Regions from separate parts of the Homo sapiens genome. Here all the other regions are linked to region 2. The links are contacts of gene promoters, found by promoter capture Hi-C in blood cells and fetal thymus (Javierre and others, 2016). All regions are on one chromosome and are shown on one strand. Each heading gives the region's core, a stretch centred on a gene start or on the middle of the fragment in contact. The rest is flanking DNA. Distances are from core to core; before and after follow the strand shown. Region 1 holds the start of NR4A3 (nuclear receptor subfamily 4 group A member 3). Region 2 holds the start of GALNT12 (polypeptide N-acetylgalactosaminyltransferase 12). Region 3 has its middle 14 kb from the start of MSANTD3. Region 4 holds the start of XPA (XPA, DNA damage recognition and repair factor).

Evidence for each region. The method cuts DNA at HindIII sites, captures the fragments that hold promoters and counts their contacts. A CHiCAGO score of 5 or more calls a contact.
Region 1: a contact is called between the fragment with the promoter of NR4A3 here and the fragment with the promoter of GALNT12 in region 2, in 3 of 17 cell types (fetal thymus, non-activated CD4 T cells and naive CD8 T cells). The highest score is 5.9, in fetal thymus.
Region 3: a contact is called between a fragment that was not itself captured here and the fragment with the promoter of GALNT12 in region 2, in 1 of 17 cell types (activated CD4 T cells). The highest score is 6.5, in activated CD4 T cells.
Region 4: a contact is called between the fragment with the promoter of XPA here and the fragment with the promoter of GALNT12 in region 2, in 2 of 17 cell types (total B cells and fetal thymus). The highest score is 6.6, in total B cells.

What each region holds. Positions count from the first base shown.
Region 1 is chr9:99,818,834-99,823,569 of GRCh38, forward strand. It overlaps NR4A3 (nuclear receptor subfamily 4 group A member 3), which reads left to right and starts at 3,052. Exons shown (of 8, transcript NM_006981.4): 1 at 3,052-3,574. LOC101928438 (a long non-coding RNA gene) reads right to left here and starts at 1,056. Exons shown (of 7, transcript NR_109802.1): 1 at 988-1,056. RefSeq lists enhancers at 180-773, 774-1,367, 3,770-4,282 and silencers at 715-1,264, 3,146-3,195. The HindIII fragment of the contact is 5,731 bases long and covers 1-4,074 here.
Region 2 is chr9:98,805,966-98,810,227 of GRCh38, forward strand. It overlaps GALNT12 (polypeptide N-acetylgalactosaminyltransferase 12), which reads left to right and starts at 1,705. Exons shown (of 10, transcript NM_024642.5): 1 at 1,705-2,104. The coding sequence starts at 1,734. It overlaps LOC124902229 (a long non-coding RNA gene), which reads right to left and starts at 1,615. Exons shown (of 2, transcript XR_007061689.1): 1 at 806-1,615. RefSeq lists silencers at 1,587-1,676, 1,777-1,846. The HindIII fragment of the contact is 2,789 bases long and covers 674-3,462 here.
Region 3 is chr9:100,410,580-100,415,323 of GRCh38, forward strand. No RefSeq gene overlaps it. Among named protein-coding and RNA genes, the nearest start is that of MSANTD3, 14 kb to the right of the region's middle. RefSeq lists a silencer at 1,053-1,142. The HindIII fragment of the contact is 2,626 bases long and covers 1,265-3,890 here.
Region 4 is chr9:97,695,393-97,699,992 of GRCh38, forward strand. XPA (XPA, DNA damage recognition and repair factor) reads right to left here and starts at 1,948. Exons shown (of 6, transcript NM_000380.4): 1 at 1,729-1,948. The coding sequence starts at 1,900. It overlaps PTCSC2 (papillary thyroid carcinoma susceptibility candidate 2), which reads right to left. Exons shown (of 11, transcript NR_147055.1): 11 at 4,233-4,600. It also overlaps the pseudogene KRT18P13. RefSeq lists enhancers at 1,340-1,399, 1,410-1,459 and a silencer at 2,010-2,109. The HindIII fragment of the contact is 4,221 bases long and covers 1-3,532 here.

The DNA.
Region 1 (4,736 bases), core at 1,802-4,301, 1.0 Mb after region 2:
AGGTCCAGAAGACACACCCACTCAAAGAGAGGAAACTTTGCTTGGAGGTTCTCAGCCAGGGAGAAGAGTTTTTTTGTTTTGTTTTGTTTTAAATTTAGGTAAACAAGGATACTGCTTTGAAACGGTCACTGGAGCCCAACTCATATGAACAATTTAGCAGCTTTATAACAACCCTGAGTGGGCAAGGACCTTTCATACATATTAACATTTAGAAAATGTAGTTTATTGAATAAATTCATTGAAAGATGTCATGTTTCCTAAAAACTGTACCTAATTTTAGGGTTCCTGCTTACAGTGATTCCAGTTCTACATGAGAGTTTTAATTGAAGGAGGATTAGGGGGGTGAGGGAGGTGCAGAACACAAATGAAATTTTTACAGCATGGAAATAAAAGTATTTTTAAATCTTCTTGGGGGTGAAGAGTTAGGCAAGAAGTAATACGTGGAAACTGTCAAGTGCTTCTCTACACATCCACCCACCAGATACCATCGCAGCCGGCTGGGGGAGTCTCCCTCTTCTTGCCTGACAGCTTCACTTTCTTTGAGATCTGGAGCTGGTGATCACACTGGCCCGTCATGGTATTTTCAGTTAACAAAGCAGTTACTCAACGGGGCAAAAAGCCACAAAGGAGCAGAGCAGCTGCTGCTGCACCCGTGATGCAAGTGCAGGATGAGCCCCGGGCCGCCACCGCCGCCTCGGCTCCTCCGTGACGTCCGGGAAGGGTATCCCCGGCACTCAGGAAGTGGTGGCCGCGGGCAGCTCCGCCCCCACGCGACTCGGGGCTGGCCGAGCTGCCGGGTGGTAGAACCGCCGGGCCTTCCGCAGGGCGGGCGGGGATCACCGTCTCCCCACCTCCGTGCGCACACACATGCACGGGCCTCGCGCCCCGCTGTCGCCCGCGCCTCGCCCTGCTCACTTCTCACAGCCCGCGCCGGACGAAGAGAGCCGCCAGCGCCCCCCCTCTCTCCCACGGCTCGCACCCACTCACCCCGACCCCCGGCGCCGAGCCCGGCCCCTCGTCGCCGGTCACCAGACCTGGTCGAACCGAGTCCAAGATGGCGACTCCGCCCCCGCCCCCTCCGCACTCCCGGCGGGGTCAGGGCGCCCCCTCACGCGGCGGGCTCGCGCCCGAGACCCGGCTAAAAATAGCCAGGCCCGACTATATTTGGTTCGGCCGGATCCTGGCGCGGCCGCGCGCTCCCCGCCCCGCCCCGCCCCGCCCCGCGCGCCCTGCCCCGCCCCGCGCGGCGTTGAATGGAGAAGGGGCGGGGGTGACCGAGGGGAACCTACTCCGCTATCTGCGGCGCGCGCCGGCGGCGGGTCCCGGCCAACCGCCGAATTTAGTAACATCGCCTGCGTCAATCACGCGCCTCGCGTGCGTCAGCGCCGCGCGGCTCCAGGTCCTGCTCCCCCCCTTCAAGCCTTTGAATGGATACAATGTAGCAGCGCCCTCCTTCCTTCCGAGGCTGGATTGGAACCCGCCGCAGTGCAGAGACTCGGTTGCTCTCGGCTGGGTCAACTTTCGGGGCATTCTCCCACGATCCTCTCCGCACCACCGTGTCTGAATTGGAAGTGGAGGCGAAGAAAGATATACATGCCATATTTACCTATATGTAGTTTGTTTTCAAGTTTCTGGTCCTAGCTCGAACCTTCTTCGATTCTGAAATGTGTGCTGTCTACAAAGGAATCTTGTATCTCCCCTCGGCGCAGCGCCCCCCGCCCCCGCCACACACACACAAATTGGGACAGGTCAAACATATAAAACGGTATTTGTGATTCAAGCGGACCACATGGGGACCACTCTATCTGCATTGTTTCACTCAAATATTTTCTCCTGTCCAAAAATTCATTTCTGAAAGAGACTGCGTTCACTCAGCAGCAACCTTTGGGACTAGGGGTCTTTAACTCTGATAAATTTTGTTTTCATCAAGAAATTTACACTTAAATTTATCATTTCCAGGAAGAAATTGCTCTCCTTCATACAGTCACCCAGGCTTTCGGCACACCATTTCATGACAAATGTGTCCGAGGAGACCAAAGCAAATCCCCTAGCGAGGGACTGACTAATAAGTCCTGTTGATTGATTTCGAAATGTTTAATTTGGGAGATGTGGGCGGAGGGCATCTACAACCATCAAAAAGTGAAAGTGCTAGTTGAGAGTTCCATTTCTGACCCGGTGCCGGGGAGGAGGAATGATTTGCAATAGTCAGACCCGCTCAGCTGTTCAACACGTGTGTGTTTGTTTTACACACAGAGTAGTTTCTGCTGCAGCGCGCGTGTGCATGATGGATGTGCACTTCGCTGGGTTATAACGTGTCCAGTTAAGAAACCCACGCCGTACGTGTAAAGAAATCAAACCTTATCCCCGGAACCATCTGCATCCCTGTGTGAAACACGCACCCAGTAAATGATGCGGGGAGGGGGGATTAGCCTGGGCGCAGAGGACCGGAGCAACGTAAACAGCTTTAGAACCTATGCAAGAGGAAAGTGCAGCTGCACCTCAGGGCGTCTTCGGGCTGGTGCCAGACGCCTTCTGCACCGGCTGCCAGGTCACTGGAGCTGGTCAGAAGCTGGCTGGCGGAGCCTTCCCTTTCGGAAGAGCTGTCCTCTCCCTTACCCCCCTCGCCCTGGCTCCGTGCCTCGGGGCAGCCTCGGAGGCGCGCCAGCAGCACTCCTCCAACTCTACTCCACCCGAGCCTGACAGCTGGGCGGTCCCGCCTGACCCGTGGGCAGGCCGCTGCACCCTCCCGCAGACGCACGCCCTGGCGAGCGGTTCCGCTGCAAAAAGAGAAGCCCCCAGGCCGGGGCCGGCCGTGCGGCGGAGTTTCCATTGTGCGGCCGTGCGACTGGCCGAGGAACGCGCGCGCGCGCGCGCGCACACGAACACACACACCCTCCCTCGCACACGCGGAACCGGCTGGGCCAGGGGAGGGAGGAGGAGGGTGACGTAGCGTCCCATGGCGTCACATTGACGTCTCGCATTCCAGGCACTCTATGGAGAGGCCGCTAGGGCTCCTGTGGCATAAATGACGTGCCGAGAGAGCGAGCGAACGCGCAGCCGGGAGAGCGGAGTCTCCTGCCTCCCGCCCCCCACCCCTCCAGCTCCTGCTCCTCCTCCGCTCCCCATACACAGACGCGCTCACACCCGCTCCCTCACTCGCACACACAGACACAAGCGCGCACACAGGCTCCGCACACACACTTCGCTCTCCCGCGCGCTCACACCCCTCTTGCCCTGAGCCCTTGCCGGTGCAGCGCGGCGCCGCAGCTGGACGCCCCTCCCGGGCTCACTTTGCAACGCTGACGGTGCCGGCAGTGGCCGTGGAGGTGGGAACAGCGGCGGCATCCTCCCCCCTGGTCACAGCCCAAGCCAGGACGCCCGCGGAACCTCTCGGCTGTGCTCTCCCATGAGTCGGGATCGCAGCATCCCCCACCAGCCGCTCACCGCCTCCGGGAGCCGCTGGGCTTGTACACCGCAGCCCTTCCGGGACAGCAGCTGTGACTCCCCCCCAGTGCAGATTTCGGGACAGCTCTCTAGAAACTCGCTCTAAAGACGGAACCGCCACAGCACTCAAGTACGTATGAGATTCGCCCAGTTAATAAGGGGACTTGCTAAAAAAGTTGGCTTGCTGGGAAGCGTCGCTCCTGAAATTGACAACTTTGAGTGTGGGGTTCCCTCCCCTGACCTTGCCGCCCGGCTCCGGCTTTGCTAGCCCAGCGGCCCGTAGGTTCTGATCTGAAACTTTTCCCCTGTAGTGGGCCCGCGGGGATCTCTGGAGCTCGTGGGATTCCTCCCCCCACTCGAAGAGGCGAAAAGCCTCTAACAAAGAGGAGGACCGGGATTTGTGCTATAGCGGCTCCAGCGATGTAATTCAGGGTATTTCGGCTCTAGTTGTCATGGTAATGATGCTCTCGGCGGCGGCGGCGGCGGCGGCAGCGGCAGCGGCAGGGAGTTGCAGCTCCGGTGATGAACGGCAGTAATTTTCCTGCCTTTTAAGTAGGATTGAAAATAGGAGCTCTGGTGGGTCCAAGTAAATGTTGCTAATGGTGGCACCGAGCTGGTTCTCTGGAAGGAAGCTTAGGAGGGAAGGGCCTAGGCAGCGACGGCCAGAGTTTGCAGACGCACTCGGAGGACCTCAGGAAAGAGGGCGTAATTGTAGGAATGTGGCTTATTGTATTGAAATGAGCCTGGGGTTCCACTAGGCACGTCTGCCTGTCGTCGCTGACATGCCGGTTTACACTTTTCCCTTAGGAGGTAAATCGGGTGTAATTGGCGACTCCCGCACACTGACACGTGTGGGGACGGTGTCCCTCTCCTCTGGACGTTGGCTCGGTGTGGGAAAGGCATGCTTTTTCACGGACAGAACTCGCGCTTTTGGAGAAGTTGCTCCGAGTGTTTTACTCTTAGTAGAAATGAAAGTTCTCGGTGGTGAGACGAGAGCGGTCATGCGAGCGCAGCCTGCGGAGACTGACTTCCAAAGGCACCTCTCCAACCTGTTGGAAGCCTCGGGGCAGTGGTGAGGAAGAACGCATTTGTCCCTTGATTTCCAAAAACGTTCTTGGAGATTGCCTTTTATTTATTTATGCGTCCGGATTCTCCAGAGGGAAGAGCTGCGAGGAGTTAGTAATCAGAAATGTCGGGCTGTGATCCCAGGGCCTTGTGGTGCTGGGAGAGAAGAACAGGGAGCCGTCATTCCATCGCGAGTCCAGTGCCGGATCTCCTTTTCCCACGACCGG
Region 2 (4,262 bases), core at 455-2,954:
ATCCTTGTCTGTTTTCTAATCTGACCGCAGATCTTAAATGTGTTGGGTGTCTGAACAGAGGCCAAAGGGCTCAGGTCCAGACCTACCTAACACAACCGCCTTCTGGCATTAACCAGCAGCCTCCATTCTGCGTGGGAAGCAGGCGGGGCCCTGAGCACTGTGGGAAGAGCCACTTCCCTCTAGTCTAATATTAGCAGCAGGTTGTCCTGAGTGGGAGCTGCTTTGCATGGTTCATCCCAAAACCCACCCCCCTCCTGCAACCTGAGGGAGATTTCCTCTGGGGATACCAGTAGCCAAAGGCTGTATGAAGACAACAGCAAGTCAGATTCTACCTCTACCTGAGCCGCCAAGTTCAAGGTCCTCTCCCCACCCTGTGTCTCAGACCCCGCATTTATCAATGAGATAATTGGACCAGATTTGTGCTTTTTAAACTTTCTGGGCTTCTGGTCTCCTTGAGAATATTTGATAAAAAGCTTTGGACCAACTTCCCATGGTAAAACAAACAACAACAAATAGAGCTTACACTCTATCCTTCTACAGGGGATACAGAATGATTCTTTTCCCTGAGCTAGACACCAGCAGAGGGAGTTCCAGATTAATTTAAGATATGATTTGAAATCTCTGCTATCACTTTTACATTCAGATATCTGTGTAGACATTACTTCATCAGAGAAGCTTTCCAAAACCCCCAAACTAGATCAAGTTCTACTATTCTAAGCCCTTTTAGCGCCCTGTAATTCTTCTTCAAAATACTTAACACAATTCTAATTATCTTTTTAATATTTGTCTACTCCATTAGACTTACTTCGTCCCTGGCAGCTCAAGGCTCCCACAGCAGTGATCTCATGAACAGGGCGGCAGCTTCATGGCCTTTTTTGGTTGTTGTTTAATAGAAACAGGATCTCGCTTTGTCATCCAGGCTGCAGCGCAGTGGCGCATAGTTCACGGTAACCTCCAATTCCTGGGCTCACACAATCCTCCTGCTTCAGCATCCTGAGTAGCTGGCACTATAGGCACGTGCCACCATGCATGGCTAATTCTGAAATTTTTCTGTAGAGATGGGAGTCTTGCTATGTTGACCAGTCTCGTTTTAAGCTCCTGGCTTCAAGTGATCCTCCTATCTCGGCCTGGGATTACAGGTGTGAACTATCATGTACAGCCTTCATGGCCTTTTGCTCCTAGCCTCAGAGGTCACAGAGCTATCACGAGGCGAGCCAGGCGAGGGTTTGCTATTCAAGGACTCCAAAGAGTATGGCAGAGGCTGGGCCTGCAGAAGTCAGTGGGGCAGCGTGGTGTCTGTTGATCTCATCGCACCTCCATCTCCTCATCTGTAAAAGGGAGCTCGTAATCCTAGTTGATGGTTGTTTTATTGGACTGTGTAAAGATCAGATGAGATAATGGCAGTAGAATTCATAACACCCTGCAGGGTGTATTCAGCCAACACTTAGCGCCTACAATATGCCAGGCGCTAAGGGTTTTACCACCACTATCTCTTTAATAATGCACCATAGCCCAAGAAGGAAGATGCAAGTCTCAGCCAGCCCACTTGAAGACCCTGCCGAAATGAGCCACCCCGGGGGCTGCGCTTGGGCTGGCGCGGGGCTGGACGGAAAGGGGGCGGCGCGCAGGTGGGGCGGGCCGGGGGCGGGGCGGCACGGCGGTTCCGGGATCCGGGTCCTGGCCTCCACCGCCGCCTTGGGGCGCGCAGATCGCTGGCTGCAGTTGGCGGGCGCATGTGGGGGCGCACGGCGCGGCGGCGCTGCCCGCGGGAACTGCGGCGCGGCCGGGAGGCGCTGTTGGTGCTCCTGGCGCTACTGGCGTTGGCCGGGCTGGGCTCGGTGCTGCGGGCGCAGCGTGGGGCCGGGGCCGGGGCTGCCGAGCCGGGACCCCCGCGCACCCCGCGCCCCGGGCGGCGCGAGCCGGTCATGCCGCGGCCGCCGGTGCCGGCGAACGCGCTGGGCGCGCGGGGCGAGGCGGTGCGGCTGCAGCTGCAGGGCGAGGAGCTGCGGCTGCAGGAGGAGAGCGTGCGGCTGCACCAGATTAACATCTACCTCAGCGACCGCATCTCACTGCACCGCCGCCTGCCCGAGCGCTGGAACCCGCTGTGAGTGCACAGCTCTGGGGAGGAAGCCCGCCCTCAGAGCCCCGGGCCTCAGTTTCTCCATCAGAGCAGTGGCAGGGCGGGGAGCTGGGGTCTCCAGGATGGCGCGTCTTATTGAGTCTTTCTCCGAAGACGATAGTGTAAGAGCTCACATGGGGGCGGGGAGGCAAGAAAGTAAAAAAGACGAAAGTAGAAAAAAAATTACCAGAAATTGGCAAGTCTGTTAGTGATCTCTTAGCTCCCTTCTCCTTGAGAAGTTATCATCTCCCTGAAAAGGTGAGGGTCAGGGCTAAGCAGAAGGGTTTAAGGCGAGGACCCCCCAGCACCCAAAGGACAACCCCGCTCTGCCCGCCTCGCAGTGCCTCCGCGAAACTGACAACTCCTCCGGGCGGTGACCGGCTCCATTCATTCTCTGTGTGTGCCAGGGCCTAAGGGACAAACAAGATGCGAGGGAGCGCCCCACAGGTGAAGCGAAAGATGGCTGTAAGGCCCCCTCAGCGCTAGAAAGCCTCCTTGTGCTCTCCCTGGGCATTGGATTTCTGAGCTTTGGGTGGAGGAAGGCGGGAAGGGGCACGGGGTGGGAAGGGCTCCTTCTGGCCGTGATCCACCCCAGCTCACTCCTGTGGGTGGTGCTGGACTGGAGCCAGCGTGGTCAGAGGCCTAGTTCCTGTTGGAGCTACTGGCTGGGCAGGTTGCGCCCCTGCCTAGGTGGGGATCCAGGGCACACGCTGGCAGCAGGAGGAAGGACAGGTGGCTGCTGCCACCTTTGCCGCTGGGCCTCCCGGGCTCTCACTTTTTCTTCGAAGTGTCAGGGATCTTCCAAGTCCTTTTTTGAGCCCCTTCCTTACAGACTTTGAGGAAAAGAGGACTCAGAGAGGGGGTTCCCATTGGAGCTGGTGGTGGCAGCCTGCCGTGTGCACCAGGCACCTGCCACTCCTCTCCCCTTCAAGCCATTCCTGCTTTACAGGTGTGGAAATAGGTTCGGAAAGGATAGGTGACCCACCCAAGGCCCCTCAGCTGGAATGTGGTAGGACTGGTCTGGAGGGACTATGGCCCTTCTGGCCCACTTGGCACCATGCTGATCTCAGGATTTTAGGGGCCTGCTCCATGGTACCTTGGCCAGAGAGACCATGAATGATGGAATGAGGATGCCCCACCTCTGCCCCACTGTTTCCACTGTCTTCCCTGTTTTGGGGATCTCCTCATGCCTAGCCTCATGCTTCTGCCTGAGGCATTTTTCACTGTTAGTCTTTTTGAATAAAACTTTGTTGGGATTGATAGTAGTTCCTCCACTCACCAGCCTAACGCATGTTTAGCTCCTCGAAACCCCGAGGGTGCCCGCTGAGGCAAGGTGGAGGGGAAGCTTTCAGGTTATACCCAGCTTCAGATTAAATCCAGCCCAGGGGAGATAAAATCCTGGTTCTTTTGCTCGTCACTTCTGTGATCTCTGGCAAGCTGCTTAGCCTCTCAGAGCCTTGGTTTCCCTTCGTTTGCGAAATAGGAAACTCATAAAAGTGAGTCTCCATGCATTCTACATAAAAGTGAGTGGAAAGAACACAACTTAGGAATTAATAAAGCATCAATACCTGGGAGCACACTGTGTGCTTAAATCTTAGTTTTTTCACCTTTCCCTGTTGCCAAGAATGTACTCAAGAGGTTGCTTTTGAGAGTCATCCAGGGATTGGTTGTAGTTTTTCTTTCCTGGATCCAACTTCCTTTATTGTCGCAGGTTGTGAATATCTCTTTGAAACACTGTGGACAATCTGTGGGGCTTATGGTAACCTGTCTCCATGGTGACGCAGCTGCCCTGTGTCCTCTCAGGATTTGCTTGTAGATCCTGCTGTTGCATTGACCCTGGAAGTTAAGCCAAACCCAGCATGATAAGGAGTGTGAATGCCTCCTGCTTCTAATTCCTGCAGCAAGGCCTGTTGGGTTATTCTTACCCAGCCAGAGAGAAAGGTGAGCCTGAGCTGTGTGGGTCTCTGTTGGGCCAGGCTTTGAGATGTAACTTCAGAGTGGTCAGTAGGGTCAGGGTATTTTGTGGCATCTCACTTTTATTACAGTTCATCCAGGAGCTAATCAGGGTCTTGAGATTTTGCCTGAGAAACCTGAATGGCAGATCATAAGTTCACAGTGTGGGTATGGGGTTCTCTGCGAGTCT
Region 3 (4,744 bases), core at 1,328-3,827, 1.6 Mb after region 2:
ACAATGAGAACAGAAACCATTTCTACAATTTAACACTTGTTAAGCAATCAGAGGAGTGGTAGGTGTCAGGAGGAAGAACTGGGAGAGAGAGGTTAGAGGACTGACATGAAGCAGACATTGAGGAAAGAGGAATTTATGCAATAATGGCCCAGGTTGCTGCAGATGTGAGAAAATATTCAACTTTTGAGAAAACATAATAGAAAAAAAATAGTTTGGCACAAAAATACAAATAAGCAAGCAAAACAAAATTACTACTTTTCTTCCCCTCCCTCCCCCACTCCCTTTTCTCTTTCTCTGTCCCTGGGGACCAGCGTTAAGGATCAATGGTCTGCCTTCGACAGTCCCCATCCCTAGCTATTTGCTCCTTTGTTGAGTGCCCCCTTTCCTCACCTTATCTTATGAAAAGCGTTCCAACCCTCCTAGACTGTGAGCTCCTAGAAAGCGGACTTAGCCTATTTTTGTATGCTATATATCACATAGCCTACTGTACAGAGTAGCTGCTCATTTGTGTTTCTTATATTGAGGTAAATCTGAATCTTACCTGGGCCAAACTCTGCGTTAGGATCTGGGTATTCAACTGTCAGGGGACTCAAGTGTGAGCAAGACCTTGTCTCTACCATCCTAGATCATACAGTCTTAGGAGGACATTGACACTAAAAAAGGCCATTACATGACCCTCAGATGAATGCGCATGGGGTAAGTACGGGTCCTCTGGATAACAGAGGAGCATGGAATGGTAACCCTAGAGACAACCTGGTGCCATTCCTGCTAGATACCGACATCTCCTATATGAATTTTGGTGGTGGGGTGAGGGGATAGGGAAATGGGGGCTGTGAGCAAGGAGGGAGGTTCCAGGAACATCTTTCACATCCCCTAGTCCCCATTTCCTTCATGAACTGCTGTATCCATCAAGTGCGGGTACGCAGGGAGCACAGTCGTTGTGCCAGGTGGGTGCCAGCACACAGCAGTCATTGACATTGTACAGACTTCTGGAGTAAATGGAGGGATGGATGAAACACTTGTGCAATCGAAATTTTTGCGACTCCTTCCATTTGACAAGTACGGTCCACGCCATTCATTCCCCAACCCAAAGCCCGCGAAGCCCCGCAGCTTACACAGAGGCCCCGCCCAACCGCCCCGCTCTGCGCGCTCCCTCAGCTCCAGCGCAGCAGCTCTGGGAGACACGCTGAACGGTAGTCAAGTTCCGGGTCACAGTGCGCTTGCGTAGGAGGAGCCAGTGGCGAAGAAGGGGAGGAGCTCGCGAAGCTTAGACTGCAGTGACGAGGAAAACGTGGATGGGATAGGAGCAGGAAAACCTCTAGGGCTCTGTGGGGTTAGCGCTCTTGGGGCCGTTTAGTGGGTGTCCCGGGGGTACTCAAAGAGAACCCGTCAGAGACTGACCTTAGTTTACACACGATGCGTCTTTTACTGCTCACATCGAGTCTATTGATTTTGCTTTTTTTTTTTTTCAATTACTTTAGTGGTCAAGAATTGCTGCTTTGCAGTGAGACAGATCCAGATTCCAGTGTCTGGTGTGACTGTGTGTGGCCTTGGGCAAGTTATCTGTCCAAGTTTCAATCGCTACCTGTATCAAATGTAGTTGATTGTAGTTGTGTGCATCACAGGGATTTTGTGAAGATTAAATGACGTCGTATGTATCAAGGGCTTAGCGCACTGCCTGGTACGCAGAAAAAGCCCAGTAAATGGCAAGTGCTATTATAACCATTATCATGAGGTTGGAGGATCGCTTGAGCCTGGGAGGTTGAGGCTGCAGCGAGCAGTGATCGCCCCACTGCCCTCCAGCCTGGGCAACAGAGTAAAACCCTGAAAAAACAAAACAAACAAACAAAAGCCCGGGGGAAACAAATCAAATGTCCCCGTATAAATGATAAACAAAATGTGGTATATACGGAACCTTATTCAGCCTTTAAAAAGAGTGAAATTCTGATGCAAGTTACAACATGGACAAACCTTGAAGACACTATGCTAAGTGAAAAAAAACATACACAAAAGAACACATGTTGTATGATTCCAGTTACATGAAGTATCTGGAATAGTCAAATATTATACACAAAGACAGATGAATAGAATAATGGTTACCTGAGGCTGCAGGTAGGGCAGAAATGAGGAGTTAGTGTTTAACAGGTGCAGAGTTGAGGATGATGAAAACGTCTGGATGGATGGTGAAAATGGTTGCACAGCCATGTGAATGCACTTAATGCCACTGAACTGTACACTTAAAAATGGTTAAAATGGGCCGGGCGCAGTGGCTCACGCCTGTAATCCCAGCACTTTGGGAGGCCGAGGCGGGTGGATCACGAGGTCAGGAGTTCGAAACCAGCCTGACCAACGTGGTGGAACCCCGTCTCTACTAAAAATACAAAAATTGGCTGGGCGTGGTGGCGCGCACCTGTAATCCCAGCTACTCAGGAGGCTGAGGCAAGAGAATCGCTTGAACGCGGAAGGCAGAGGTTGCAGTCAGCCGAGATCGCGCCACTGCACTCCAGCCTGGGCGACAGAGCAAGACCTCAAAACCAAAACAAAACCAAAAAATGGTTAAAATGGTAAATTTTATGTATATTTTACCACACAAAGAAAAGGAGAGGAAAGAAGCCCAGGAGCAGGCAGCGCACAGCGGGAGTGCATGGCAGCTCAGCTCAACAATGCTCTCAGGCGCTTAGGGTCCTTCTATCTTTCAGTTTACCACTCCCAGCATGTGACTTTTGTCCTTGTGGTCATAAGATGATTGCTGCTTCTCGAGGAATTGTGTGCATGTACTAGATAAGAAAAGCCAAAAGTCATCTTCTTGTGAAGTTTTATATTTTCATTCAAGAAAAGGAGCCTAAGGGAATACCCGCCTGCTACTCATTGACAGGAATTTTATCAAGTTGACCTCTCAACAGGAGTCTGGGAAAGTTACTTTTCAAGTGTCTAAAGTATAGAATGGCACAATAAAGGGGAGCTGTGAGGTCCCCCTTATCATGCCATTCTATAGATACTTGAAAGGTAATTTCAAGTATCTAAAGTATAGAATTTTCAAGTACAGAAAATTTGAGGCCGGATGTGGTGGCTCATGCCTGTAATCCCAGCACTTTGGGAGGCCAAAGTGGGCGGATCACCTGAGGTCAGGAGTTTGAGACCAGCTTAGCCAATATAGTGAAACCCCATCTCCATTAAAAATACAAAAAAATTAGCCGGGCATGGTGGTGCGAGCCTGTGGTCCCAGCTGCTCCGGCGGCTGAGGCAGGAGAATCGCTTGAACCCGGGAGGCGGAGGTTGCAGTGAGCCGACATCGCGCCACTGCACTCCAGCCTGGGAGACAGAGAGAGGCTTTGTATCAAAAAAAAAAAAAAAAAAAAAAAAAAAAAGGAAGAAAATTTGAGTAGCCAAATTTTCAGGGAATGTCCCACAAACATAGAGGTTTATTTTGCTTTTTTCCATAAATGTGCTTATACTGCATATTATTTTTTGCAACTTGCTATTTTTTCTTAGCAATATGAATTAGAATTCCTCAGTTCCTTTAGCTGCTGCAAAATACTCTTGTTTCTAAGGCACACTTTTTTATTCACATTTTATGATCTCTCAGATTGGTATGCATCTTACAGTTGCTGTCAGCTAGCAAGGCAGCAATAGTGATGTGGTTGTCATTGCCTGCTGGGTATGCATCAAAACTTGCAGAATGGAGGTTAGCAGCCTGGCATATTGATGATTCTGAGTCTAAACATTATACAGAAGGTTCAGACTCTGAGAAGAGGATTTAGCTATATGGTAATCAATTTATTTCATGAATCCTTTTAATTTATGCATAAGGATAATATGGAACTAAAGATGTCTTAAGCCTTAATTAGCTTTTTCAATAAGTATAAAATAAAAATTATAAATGGCAAGAAAGCTTTGTGTCATAGCTTAATTAGGATCATTTTTCTTTCTTAATGATGTATGAAATAACGAAGGCTATAGCGGGTCACATCCTCGAGTTAATGAAATACAGTGTTCTTTTTTTTTTTTTTGAGACCGAGTCTCGCTCTGTGGCCCAGGCTGGAGTGCAGTGGCGCGATCTCGGCTCACTGCAAGCTCCGCCTCCCGAGTTCACGCCATTCTCCTCTCTCAGCCTCCTGAGTGGCTGGGACTACAGGCGCCCGCCACTACGCCCGGCTAATTTTTTGTATTTTTAGTAGAGACAGGGTTTCACCGTGTTAGCCAGGATGGTCTCGATCTCCTGACCTCGTGATCCGCCCGCCTCTGCCTCCCAAAATGCTGGGATTACAGGCGTGAGCCACTGCGCCCGGCCGAAATACGGTGTTCTAAATATGACTATTCCATAGCTTATTTAATCATTTCCTTTTTGATAGAAGTTAGGTTTAATGATGCTTTAGGAAACCCTTGTGCATGCCCTTTTTTGCATATGTGAAAGTAGTCGTTCTCTAGATACCTAGGAATACACATTTTAACATTCTGAGAGCAACTGCCCTTTAAAAAGCTCCTATCGATTTACACTTCCATGAAAGAACCCATTTTTTCCAAACAGTTTTACATTTTGGTCAATCTGGTATCTGAAAATAGTACATCATTGTTTTGATTTTGTCTTTTAGTGTTGTTAAGGGTGTCTATAACATAGAAGCCAATTTTTAAAAATCAACTTTTTATTTTTGTGTAGTTTTAGATTTACAGAAAAACTGTGAAGATAGAACAGAGTACTCCTATATATCCCACACCTAGTTTCTCTATTGTTAATATCTTACAT
Region 4 (4,600 bases), core at 698-3,197, 1.1 Mb before region 2:
GCCTTTACTTGTATACTTCTGACAAATAGTAAACATTCCATGAGTACCAACTGGATGGATAGAAATGAATGAACCTACCAGAATATGTAATATAAATAGCAAAGTAAATGAATGGAATGACAGTAAACACAATGAGAATTAAGAAGAGGGAAAGCTGGAGTAGTCGAGCCCATGACTTGAGCAGGATCCTAAACAATGCTAACTCATGCCCAAAACAAAGTCCGATTTCTCTCTGCTGCTATGCCTTGCTGTTTCCCCAGGACCTTAGCACCACTCTTCGTATTCTAAGCAAGTTTTTTCAGTCTTTCATGGCATATGTCATGGCACACAGAGAAAAAGAAAATTGTATAGTACCATGAAATAAAAGTGTCACAAAGATAAAAATCTCAGCACTTACCTAACTCTTGAAACATGGTGGGTTGTACACAATGCTACAATACAGTTCAGTTCTTGGGGAACTGCCTAAGAAATCTTAAAGAATGTTCATTCTACCTTGCTTTCCATGATCAAAAGTTTAATTTAATGTCAGTTTTTGCTATTTTGCACCTTCCGTTCCACAGCCATGTCGTAGACCTGGAAACCTTTATGGAATCATGACTATGAATTAATCAGTGCAAATGAACTTTCTGTCTGACTCTAGCGTGCCTCAAGTTTAGAAAGGAATAAAAGGTAACCACTATAAAGTAGAAAGGATGAGACCAGTACCATCAAAAGTAGCTGGAATTTGCAGTTTCGGTGTTAGTATGAACATCAAGACATGCTGCCAGCCTCAGACTCTTCTCACTCTCACTACATCTGGCTGATAAAAAAGAGTAATACAGCTCTAAACTGTGCTCGACAAAGGGCAGTATAGAGCTTTAGGAACACATGTACTTCATGTTATAGAGGCAGCCCTGAAGAACTGCCTGTCAACCAAACTATATTTTAAGTATCCTGTTAAAGATTATTAGTTGACCCCAGTGGCAAATTCTATAAGAGAATAATCTGCAATGAGAGATCAGTCCTTAATTTACTTCAATCAATAAACACGTTTTGAGCAACTAGTTTTTGCCAAGAAATCGCAGAGGTCACATGTCCAAGAAATAGACTCATGGAATCTATGGATTAGAATCTTAAAGGTTTACTATCCAGTCCCTTCTTCTGATTGCTGAGTAGGAGATTCTGATTGCTGAATCTCCTCTCCTCCACATAAGTAAGCGTTCTTCCAGTTCCTATTTGAGCGCTTCTAGTAACGGGAAGCTCATGAGAAGCAATCCATTGCACTTTTGGCAACTCTAATTGTTGAAAGCTCTCCCTAACAAACACCAAGATCTGCCTCTTCCATCAACTAGTTCTAGGTATAGAGGCCAGAATCAAGAACTAGTCTAACTCCTCTTTCCGGGACAGCTGAGGCCCTGACACCTGGCAGTGGCTGACACCTCCCGGCCGGGGCGGCTGCATCCCTAAACGAAAAATCGAAGCTGCCAGCAGCCGAGGTGCAGCGAAGAAGGCCCGGGGCTGGGGGTCAGGAGGCCCGCGTGCGACAGAGGAACGCTCTGTGGTCGTGGACAGGACGCTTTGACAAGGCGGCTGGCTGGGCGGATTCCCTCTCCGACTCGGGGAGAATCTGCACACATACGCCAGCGGAGTTGACGCGACCCCCGGGCCCCGGGACTCGGCTTGCACGAGCCAGTCTGGGGACCGGGGAGGCGGGGAGAGGGAAGGGGAAAGCGCGGACGCGGCCCAAACCTCCAGTAGCCGCAGCCGCCGTCGCCGAGTAGGGCCGGGCAGCCAGCCGGGCCTGGCGCAGCATCAGTGCCCGCTGCCGCTTCCGCTCGATACTCGCCCGCACCGAGGCAGGCAGCTCCGCGGGTTGCTCTAAAGCCGCCGCCTCCGGCAAAGCCCCGTCGGCCGCCGCCATCTCTGGCCCACTCCGAGGACCTAGCTCCCAGCTCCACGCACGCGCACTGCACGCCGAGGCGAGCCAGCCGCCCTGCACCGCCTCTGCGCTCCCCGCACCCAGCGGCCTTTCTGAGTGAGAGCGCCTGCGCAGTTAAGGGGCTCGGGGTGGCCTGCCCGGGCGCTGGGCGGAGTCTGGGTATGCGCGGACACGGAGTACCCGCCTAACTACCTGCTCTCTTGTCATCCGGGAGAAGGGTCCGTGCTGAGATCATATCTCACGACCTGGTCACCTTTAAAATAGGTCTCGCTTGGTGATTCAGAGTATAGGCTTTGGAGTCAGGCCTGGGTTAAGTCTGAGCTCTTGACAGTTAAAGTCTGTGTGACCTTGGGCAAGTTATTTAACCAGAGTTCAGTTTCTTCAGTGGTAAAATGAGGATAATTATGGAACCATTTACCGAGTCTTTGGGAGGATTAGATTGCCAGGACAATAACCTGGCACGTAGAAGACCTCAAAAAATGGTAACAGTGAGTAGTAGTAGTGCCAGTCATAGAGCCCAACAGATGATAGTCCTGATTTTATGTTGGATACACGGCCTAGAGACACAGCCTTAGATTTAAAATGAGAAGACCTGGGTTGAAACTCCCAGTTAACTTGCTGTGTGACCTCAGGCAAATGCAGGACTTGCTCCAAGGCTGATATGCATAAGGTTGGCTATCTTTCCCATGGAATATTCCTTCAGTGAGGATGAGCTACTGCCAGGTAGACAGTGGGTTTGGATCTGGGCCAAATATCCTGACTTCCCAAAAGTGTGGCTAGTGTAACAAAAGAAACATAGCAGGCTTTCCCAAAAATGTATGCTTTCCCTTTGTTACAAATAATGCTTAATTGAAACCAGAAAACATTAACTTCTAATTACTACATGTACCATTTAGGACTGGCTTTTAGAAAGACAACCTCACACACTGATGTTTCCCACTAATGTTCAATGGTTAACCTTTCAGAAACACAATTCAGTGTTCTAATTTATCGGTCATATATACATAAAGCTGCAAAACCTCGTATAAAGCAGTTACCTGCTGAAATCTTAGGTTGAATTGGAGATAGAATCTCAAGCCATCCCCATCTCCCTTCCCCTCAGATCCTTCTTTCTCCCTACCCATCAATCTTGCCCAGGTGAAACTATTTCAAATTCCATAACATCAAAAGCACAAGCAACAAAAGAAAAAAAGCTGGACTTCATTAAAATTAAAAACTAGGCTGGGCACAGTGGTTCACACCTGTAATCTCAACAGTTTGGGAGGCCAAGGCAGGAGGATGACTTGAGGTCATGAGTTCAAGACAAGCTGAGGCAACACAGTGAGACCCTGTCACTATTAAAAAATAATAATAATTGGCAAGGTGCAGTGGCTCATGTCTGTAATCCCAGCCCTTTGGGAGGCCAACACAGGAGGATTGCTTGAGACCAGGAGTTCAAGACCAACCTGGGCAATGTAACAAGAACCCATCTCAGGAGGTCAAGGCTGCAGTGAGCTGTGATGGCACCACTACACTCCAGCCTGGGCAACACAATAACATCTTGTCTCAAAAAAAAATTAAAGTCGTCGGCAAAGCCTGAGTCCTGTCCTCTCACTCTCCTCCCTGGACAGCATAAGCTTCACCACTCGCTCCACCTTCTCCACCAACTACCGGTCCCTGGGTTCTGTCCAGGCACCCAGCTACGGTGTCCGGCTGGTCAGCAGCATAGCCAGCGTCTGTACAGGCACGGGGGCTCTGGTTCCCGGATCTCCATGTCCCGCTCCACCAGCTACCTGAGCAGCATGGGTTCCGGGGGCCTGGCCGCGGGGATGGCCAGGGGTCTGGCAGGAATGAGAGGCATCCAGAACAAGAAGGAGACCGTGCAAAACCTGAACAACTGCCTGGCCTCCTACCTGGACAGAATGAGGAGCCTGGAGGCCAAGAACTGGAAGCTGGAGAGTAAAATCCAGGAGCACCTGTAGAAGAAGGGACCCCAGGTCAGAGATGAGCCATTACTTCAAGACCATTGAGGGCCTGAGGACTCAGATCTTCACAAATACTGTGGACAATGCCTGCATTGTTCTGCAGATTGACAATGCTGGTCTTGCTGCTGATGACTTTAGAGTCAAGTATGAGACAGAGCTGGCCATGCGCCAGTCTGTGGAGAGCCACATCCATGGGCTCCGGAGGTCACTGATGACACCAGTGTCACTCGGCTGCAGCTGGAGACAGAGATCGAAGCTCTCAAGGAGGAGCTGCTCTTCATGAAGAAGAACCACGAAGAGGAAGTAAAAGTGTTGTACCCGAGCGAGTTAAAAAAACGCCACACTTTGAGATGAATTAAGAGTCCTTTATTAGCCGGCGACCGAGAGACGGCTAACGCTCAAAATTCTCTCGGCCCCGAGGAAGGGGCTTGATTAACTTTTATACCTTGGTTTAGAAAGGGGGGGTCGTCTAGTTAAAACAATTTTACAGAAGTTAAGTAGTCAAAAAGTTAAAAGGATAAATGGTTACAGGAAAGTAAACAGTTCCAGATGCAGGGGCTTTAAGACTATTACAAGGTTATAGATGCAGGGCTTTGGGCGTTATCAAACAGATGAATTCTTGGGGACTGTGGATATAGCTTGCCACAGTATCTTATCAGTTAATTGCATTCTTGGATGTGCTGGGAGTCAGCTTGCACAAGTTAAGTCCTTGAGGAAG